Regions from separate parts of the Homo sapiens genome. Here region 1 is linked to region 2. The links are contacts of gene promoters, found by promoter capture Hi-C in human tissues and cell types (Jung and others, 2019). All regions are on one chromosome and are shown on one strand. Each heading gives the region's core, a stretch centred on a gene start or on the middle of the fragment in contact. The rest is flanking DNA. Distances are from core to core; before and after follow the strand shown. Region 1 holds the start of NOVA2 (NOVA alternative splicing regulator 2). Region 2 holds the start of IGFL1 (IGF like family member 1).

Region 1 (4,216 bases), core at 337-2,836, 260 kb after region 2:
ATCCACCCCAGGCCATCTGCTACCCTCCCCCATCCTGGGGACCTGAGAGCATGGCAAGGGAGGAGCAGGGGGGGGTTGGAGCCGATCCCCCTGCCGCAGATCACGCAGTGGCCACAATTACCTGCATCCAGACCCCTTCTGAGCCTAATCTTGCCTCTGACCAACCCAGGAAGGAAAGATTCCTTGGAGGTTAAGAACCCAGGGAGAAGGAAATTCTTGCATCAAGGAACACAGAATAATAGCAATGATCCATTCCAAAGAAAGGCACCCTAGTTCCAATGACTTTGGGCTCTGAAATTGGACTTGTCCTGCGTTCTCATCCCAGTTTCTCTCTCTCAAGCTGTGTGCCCTTGAAGAAGCCACCCTCAATGTTCCCAGGCCTCCACTTTGTCATCTGAAAACAAATTTTTCTTAATGACATGAGTAGTAATACTGTACAAGGGCCAAGGCTGTTTTGTTCTCTATTGTATCGCAGCATCAGGGACAGTGCCTGGCACTTAGTAGGTAGGCCCTGAGTGCTGTTGTTTGAATGGAGAGCCAGTTGTGCCCCAGGGCAGGTGCTGCAGGCTGCAACTCCAGCTCAGTGAATTCAATCCTCTGAGCCCTTTCAGCATCACGGTGTTGATTCTTCAAAGGATGGATGAAAGATTTGAAGGGGAATTTCCCAGCTGAAAGGATTGAAAAAGAGTGAAGTGAAATTTCTTTCTCTTTCTTTCTTTCTTTTTTTTTTTTTTTTTTGAGACAAGGTTTTGCTCTGTCTCCCAGGCTCGAATCTAGTTGCTTGATCATGGCTGACTGCAGCCTCAAACTCCTGTGCTCAAGAGATCCTCCCACCTCAGACTCCAGAGTACCTGGGGCTACAAGCATGTGCTACCACGCCTGGCTAATTAAAAAAAAAATTTTTTTTTTGTAGAGATGGGGTCTCACAATATTGTTGCCCAGCTCGTCTCAAACTCCTGGGCTCAAGTGATTCTTCCGCCTCGGCCTCCCAAAGTGCTGGGATGACAGGCATGAACCACCGCGCCTAGTCGAAATTTCTTGTCTTGACCAAGTGAAGTCAAAGTAAGCTCCTAAGGCTGTTTCCTCATCTGTAAAATAGGGATAATAAGCGTAACTCACAGAGCTGGTCGCTCTGGGGAGTAAATGCGATAACGTCTGTGACGTGCTTGCTTGGAACCGGACCTGGCACACAGTAAGTGCTCAATAAACGTTCATTCAAGGTGAGGAGTGGGGACGGCTTGGAGGAGCCCGGGGTCCTCCCAGCAGCCTGGGGGAGTCGGGTCCAGCTCTCTGCCGCCGGGAGGGGCGTGGCCAACCCAGAGGGACGTGGTCCAGGCTTCAAGGCTGGACCAATGGGGGCGCCGAAGGGCGTGGCCCTACCCGGCATGGGCGTGACCTCGTTGGGTGGGAGGGGCCAGGCGCTGTGGGAGCCTCCGGGAAGAAGATGCTCGGGCCAGCAGCCACCGCCAGCCCCGTCGCCGCCGCCGCCCGCGCCCGCCGCCCCCCGGGCCCCCACTAGCGGCCGCCTCCGCCTCCCACTCCGGCCACGCTCCTCCGGCCCCCCACCCCGAGCAGGGTCTGGGGGGCTCGGCCCTCTTGCCCCAGGGAGCCAAGAAGAAGCGGGGAGTCCCGTCCCCCCAGTGGCGCGTCCAGTCCCCAGCCTCTGTGGTCCCAGGAGAGACCCCACCTCTCAGTTCTTTCCCGGCCCTATCGGAGACCCCCCTCGGCCCTGCCATCCTGCTCACGGCCGCTCTCCAGGCTCTGTCAGCCCCCCGAGAACCGGCTCCCCCCTACCCCCGCCTTCCCTCTCCGGGGCTCCCCCTCCCCCATCCCTCCACCGCCCCCTCCCCCTCCCACCTCCCCTCCCCTCCCCCTCCCCCGCCCCCCGCCCCCCGCCCCCCCCCACCATGAGGATGATGGCCGCCGGCGCGGTGCACGGCCTCTTCACGGCCTCCGCGGCCCCGCAGCCGCCGCCGCCCCCGCCGCCGCCGCCGCCGCAACCCCAGCCTCCCCAGCAGCCGTCGCCGCCGCCACAGCAGCCGCCGCCGCCGCCGCCGCAGCCGCCGCAGCAGCAGCAGCCGCCGCCCCAGGCCCCCCCCATGGAGCCCGAGGCCCCGGATTCCCGCAAGAGGCCCCTCGAAACGCCCCCCGAGGTGGTCTGCACCAAGCGCAGCAACACGGGAGGTGAGAAAGGGCTGCGGCTCGGGGCGGGGGAGCGGGCAGGGGGCCTCGCCTTTCTCCATCCTTTCCCCCCCTCCCGTGGCAGGTGCAAGGGCTCTGGGGAGGGGAGAGACACCCCTCCCCGAGGCGGGGGACAGAGCGGGGAGTTGAGGAGGGGGCTGGACCCCCTCCTCCTCTCGCTGAGGCCCGGGGCTGGGAGCTTTGTCTGCGAGGAGAGGGGTGGGGGGGAGGGGGTGATAAGTGTCCTTGGGGGGCGCAGAAGATGGGGGGCGTGGGAGCCTCAGGGCAGGTGTCTGTGTGTCCTTGAGGGGTGTGTGATGTGACCCTTTCGGAGCAGGGGTGTTCCCCGAGCTCGCGTGTCCTGGCTGGGGGAGGGGAAGGAGTAGAGGCCTGTGGACCGGGAGCTTCCCAGCCTCCCTCCCTGGGGATGTCCTGAACAAGGGTTGTCCCAGATGGAGGCTTGTGTGGCCCTGGCCGGATCGTGCGTGGGGACAGGCTGGGTAGGTGTGTGGGGTGAAATGGAGGAAATGGTGGGTGTGTAAAGCTAGGTGGGAGAATGTGAGGCTAGGACAGGTGTGTATGTGTGTGCGTGTGTGTGTATGTGTGCCCTCTACAGCCTGGATGTGTGACATTAGGGATCAGGAATATGACAGCATAGGGGGGTGTATGAGAAAGACAGGGGACAGGGGCTGGGCTCCATGTTTGAGACCCTCCAGCGGGTACGTGTGACAAGGAAAGGTGTGTGCTTGTCACCCCCAAGGGGGCTGTGGCAGAGTGTGACACATGAGAGGGTGTGTGTGACATGCAAGGAGGTGTGTGGGGGACACCGAATGGGCTGGCTCTGGGTGTCAGCCAGAAGAGGCCGTGTAGATCAGAGGAAAGGGGTCCAGTGTGTGTGACACAGGCGTGGCTGGTGAGGGGATGTGACAAGAAAAGGGTGTGGGTGTGACTCCAGAGAGGCTGTGGCTGGGTGTGACACATGGAGGTGTGCAACAGTGACATCAGAGGGGGTGTGTGCAACAGGGAAGGTGGGTGTATGACGAGGGAGAGGCTGGGGCTTGTGGGTGAAACGCACGAGGGTGTGTAAAAAGGAGAAGGAAGGATGGGTCCCCATGTGACAGGGCACGTGTGCATATGACACCCAGCTGTGTGTATGGGTGTAACAAGGAGAGGTGTGTGTGTGAAATGGCTGAGTGTGTGACACCAGAGATATGGGGATGATTCTGCATGTGTTTGACAAGGGAGGCTGTGTGTGTGTCCGTGTGTATTGGAGATTGCCGAATGTTTGACACCACGGAAGGCAGTGTGAGGGAAGAGAGGGGCTCTCCCTGGGTGTGTGACCCAAGGAGGTGTGTGTACCAGAGAAGAAAAGCCGAGCTGGGAACTCTAGGTGCATGCCCTGCCGTGGGGGGCTCAGGGAAGAGGTGGGGTTTTTTGGGGTCCTCAGAGCCCTGTCCTCTAGCTCCCTGGTAGGAGGGAGACCCCGCAGCGGACAAGCCCCTCCCCGCGGTCACCTTGCCAAAATCTCCACTTCCTCTGGCCTTTTCCTCCGGATGGGAGAGGGATGGCTTCAGGCAGAGTGCACCCTTTCCTCTCCGCCAGGCCTGGCAGTGGGTGGGGTGGGGGCCTCCTACCTCCTCCCTACAGATGAATACAAGCCGACTTTCTTCCTCCCATCCTAGCCCTCCCCCACCTCCATCCAGGTGGGACAGGAATCAGGGACCCCCTGGATGCCTGTGAGGGTGTCCAGCAGAAATTGGAGGAAAGGGAAGTTGGGGGAGGGGATGGGAGGGAGTTTCCTGTCCTTCTTCCTGCTCCCCCACCCCCAGCACACACATGAATATGTCCCCGACTTCCTTCCCTCCTTCCTGCCCCACTGCTGTTCCCAGTCCTGGAGAGGTCAGGGACCCAGGAGGTCCCTGAGCCCAGCCAGACTGTCTAGCCCTCCACCACCGTCCTCCAGAGGGTAGGGGGTTCCCACCTTTCTCTACAGGGACTGAGATGCTTAGAATCTGATCACTTCTCAGCACAACTT
Region 2 (4,137 bases), core at 1,276-3,775:
CATCCTCCACACCCCGCCCCACCCACTCCCTCTCAGGCTCCAGCTTTGGCCCAAAGTCAGACTAAGTGTGGCATCTCTGGGCGTTGGACCTGCCCAGTGGGTTTTCCACGATCCCAGGGGACGCGTGCCTGGGATGGGTGTGTGGCAGATCAGGTTTCTGTTAGCGACCAGAAGAGTCAGTTTCCACTAAACTTTATTTTTGATGAATGCATACCTTAAACATTATAGAACTGGATAAACTAGTGCCTGGGGATGAGGGCGGGAATGAGAAAACAAGCCCATTAAAACCCCAGCTGGGTTTTCTCAGACCCTAAAATCTGATCAAATAATAATAGCATTCTTCCACATATTCCTCATACTGGGGTCCATTTAAGATTAAGAAACTTTCCAAGACTCTGGAGAAAGCTTTCCAGACCCTGGACACTAGTTAAAGATTAGATATTGATAAGAATGAAACACGCTGTCTTGCAGGTGCACTCCGCACATAGGCGTGGAGCTTAGAATGCATATAAGCACTAGAAAAAGAAGTTTGTAGCTTTGAGTTGGTCTGGTAAGCTACTCTGACCTTCTCCCCATAGCCAGTTGGAGAAAGAACCTCCGTTCTTTCCCAGTCTGTCTGCATCTCCTTAACGTACATCAAGAACAAACAGCCGGGTCCTGTTCTGTCCCAGAACTGGTGGGAGAGGGAGTGCCTCTCCGAAGCCCTCTCGCGATCCCCACCTCCTCCCCACCCCACCTGGGCTGCTCCCGATGTTGTGACTGGGTTCAGGGAGCCATGGGGTGGTGGAGGCTGGTGTAGGAGGGTGGCCCCTGTCCCAGGTGCGGCCAGGGTCCTAGTCACCGAGCACAAATAACAAAATAATAAATTTAAAAATAAATGGAAAAAGAGAAAATAAGTGTGTGCACGAACAGAACAAATGGAAAGGCCCAGATGCCTCAGGGTGACAGAGAGAAGGGGCCCCACGTCACCCTCTGTGACCCCTTTCAACAGTCCAAGCTCTCTAATTCATGAATTCTACAGCATTCATTTATAAAGTACATAAATTTATTATGATCCTGTGCTTTGCTCCTGGATAGAAGAGAACTTGAGATGATGGAAAATCTCACAGAAGGGTGAAGGGTTCCCCAGCCAGCCTTGGGGTGGTGCCGGGTTGATGTTGGCCATAGGGGTCATCAGGAGGGTTCAGAGTCCCTGGGCCCCCATCAGCACACGCATCTCATGCTGTCCAGAATTCTAGAAGGGGACCTGTGGGCCTCCTCAGGGCAGCTGCAGGGTGGGCCTCAGACAGGTCACAGAATGAAGTGGGCAGTTGAGTGTGTGTTTCTCTGGCCCCCAAACAGCCACTCAGCATCCCAGATCTCAGGTAACACCAGCCTCTTTCTCCAGGCCCACCCAGGAAGGAGAATCCAGGAGTCATCGTTCCCCTGATGTTCCATTAGCTGACACTGGAGATAGTGACAGAGAGAGACACTGAGCGGGACAGAGATGGCCAGAGATGGGGGCGAGACTGAACATGGGCAGAAATGAGGACAGGAGAGCCAGGAGGAGAGGACAGCGGGGTAGAGAGAGTGAGATTCTGAGAGGGAAATAAAAATGGATGGAGACACAGGTGTAGGGAAAGGGAGAGGTGGATTGAATAGAAGCAGGGGGCAGAGACAGGGAGACAAGGAGAATGGGGGCTCCACCCAGGGCAGAACAGGCATGCAGCTACCCTGCACCCACAATCCCACGGAGGGGACAGGACTCACCTGCGACAAAGCCTGTCATCCGAGGTCCGGGCTGAGTCGCAGTTCTGGTTTATCAGCTTCACCATGAAGGTCCAGGGGCAGCACTGCTCAAAGCAGACTCTGAAGGTGCAGTTTCCACACGTCTGGGTCCTGGCCAAGGGCACGACGGCATCATCATAGCAACAGTGCTGCAGGGGGTCGTAGAACTTGTCCCCACATCTCTTGTGTGGCTGGCACAGCATCAGGTAAGGAGTCATGGGGGCCACTGGAGGAGACAGAGCTGGTGAGATCCAGGAGGTAGTGGCAGGTGGGTCCCAGCCTGGGGTCCCCTGGAAGGTGTACCCCTCCTCCAGCTTCCCAAACACTCCTGGGCTCACCTGGGGCTCCGTGTGAGCAGAGGAGCCTGGAGATGCAGAAAATGGCAAAGACAGCTGTGGGAAAGGGAAAGGGAAGATGGGGTGAGTGGACAGCCACAGATATGACTGGCACTGACATTTAGAAGAAGACTGGGTGGAACCAGGGCTCGGTATGGCTTTGAGCAGCTCAGGGACTGAAACAGGGCTGTGGATGGGGCTGATCTGGGCACTATGGATGGGGAATTGCTGTGAGCAATTCACGCCTGGAGATTTGGCTGGGCATGGGAACAGGGATGAGGTGTAGTTTGGGGTAGGGAGAGAGCCCTGGTGGTGGCTGAGATTGGAGATGGGCTCAGGTGGGAATGGGGTCCTGTCCTCCTTACCTACGATGCAGCCTCGGGGAGCCATGGCTCTGGGTGGTTGCAGTGGAGTGAGGAGGGGATCAGCAGATCTCAGCCACTCCTTTTATCCCATATTTCTAGTGGAGCTGGTGATGTCATGGCATTTCCTGCCCTCCTGCAAGTCCTGCAGAGACAGGCTGGGTCCTTGGGCAGGAGAGGTGCCAGGCAGGGTACGTGTCATTGTAGCTTTGATCTCACCTTTGTAATCAGGAGAGAAGCGGTACACCCTCCACCTTCTCTGTGCTATGTGCCCCAATCGTCCCCCACACTGAGTCCTCTGGAAAATAGGAAGGTTCAGGATGCTCCTGGCATTAACACTCTCCGACACTCACATGTCCACACAGCGATTCCACAGGATCCTACTGAGCTATGACTTTCCTCAGTTTCCTTGGGACATTGCTAACCCATGACATCATTTCAAAGGGTCCCATTAGGTCCCAACCTCACAACCGAAACACATGGTCAAGAATCCAGTAACTTCTCAGTCACCTGCAGCTCATGGCATTCAGGTGGGAGAGACTGTGTGACTCAGGCACCTGACTTTCACAGGTTTGGAAGGTGGGAGTGGAGCTGGCGGGACCCCTGGGACTCAACACTCCTCTGGGGGCTCTTCATCTCCTTCTCTGTCTCATTAATGGTCATTTACCCAGGACAGGTCCACTTGGGAGCCTACATGTCCCAGGCTTCGTGTCAGACACCAGTGATGCAGTGCTGAGTAGAAAACGCAAAGTCAGTGTCTTCGTGACGTTCATGACAGTGAGAGGAGAGAGAGAGAGAGAGAAGGTAGGAGAATAAAACTCCTGATTTTGGTTATTGTCGTTCTTGTGTTTGGTGTCATTATCACTGTGAAGTTCTGGTGGAGAAATTCCACATCCCCCCCTGAGATTCTCAAAGGTGTTTTTCCTTAATGTGCTTTTTCAGAGGGTTGGGTTGTGATTTTCCCTGAGAAGAGCCATCTTGGGGTCAGGATGTGAGGACAGAGGGGAAGGAGCTGTTTTGGGTCAGTTCTGTGCCCCCCTACCCCTGCCCAGCTTCTGCAGGAATTCCTCCGCTCAAGCTCACAGGCCACACATGGCATGGACAAGCCGTTCTCCTCCGGGCCAGGCAAGGTGACCTGTCACCCTCTAGGCACCATGGCTGGCTCCTAGCAGGGCATGGATGTGGTTAGATTTGTGTGTGTGGAAGATCCTGCATCTGTGTTCCTGGGGAGCACGGATAGGGGCTTCTCTCTGGAGGCAGGAGACACAGGAAGAGGCTGCAGAGAAATGACTTCAATAAATACCAGAGTGCTCAGCACCCACCTTCTCCCTCGACAGAGCAGACCCTGCTTCCAGCACCATCTCCCTGTCTGCTCCCTTGGCCTCTGTTCCTTGCTGCTGTGGGGTACAGCAGTGTTTTCTAGGACACAGATTAGGATGTGCTAGTAGCATGGAAAATCAATTTACTTGGGCATAAACAATGTTATTTTTAAGTGAAGAAATGGGTTAGAAAATGGGACAGTGTGCATTCAACAGAATGCTGTGCTCAACTGTTTATGACACTTTAAAAAAAATTATTTATTTTTTTGAGATGAAGCCTTGTTCAGTTGCCCAGGCTGGAGTGCAGTTGCACGATCTTGGCTCACTGCAACCTCTGCCTGCCAGGTTCAAGTG

What was found. Contacts are between HindIII fragments. The study calls those that stand out against the background at their distance.
Region 1: a contact is called between the fragment with the promoter of NOVA2 here and the fragment with the promoter of IGFL1 in region 2, in 4 of the 25 tissues and cell types used here (IMR-90 fibroblasts, mesenchymal stem cells, spleen and 1 more).

Annotation. Positions count from the first base shown.
Region 1 is chr19:45,971,235-45,975,450 of GRCh38, reverse strand. NOVA2 (NOVA alternative splicing regulator 2) reads left to right here and starts at 1,586. Exons shown (of 4, transcript NM_002516.4): 1 at 1,586-2,184. The coding sequence starts at 2,100. RefSeq lists a silencer at 1,261-1,420. The HindIII fragment of the contact is 35,305 bases long and covers 1-4,216 here.
Region 2 is chr19:46,228,130-46,232,266 of GRCh38, reverse strand. It overlaps IGFL1 (IGF like family member 1), which reads right to left and starts at 2,525. Exons shown (of 4, transcript NM_198541.2): 1 at 2,468-2,525; 2 at 2,106-2,159; 3 at 1,750-1,993; 4 at 1,024-1,446. The coding sequence starts at 2,492. The coding sequence ends at 1,437. RefSeq lists an enhancer at 1,978-3,177. The HindIII fragment of the contact is 10,872 bases long and covers 1-4,137 here.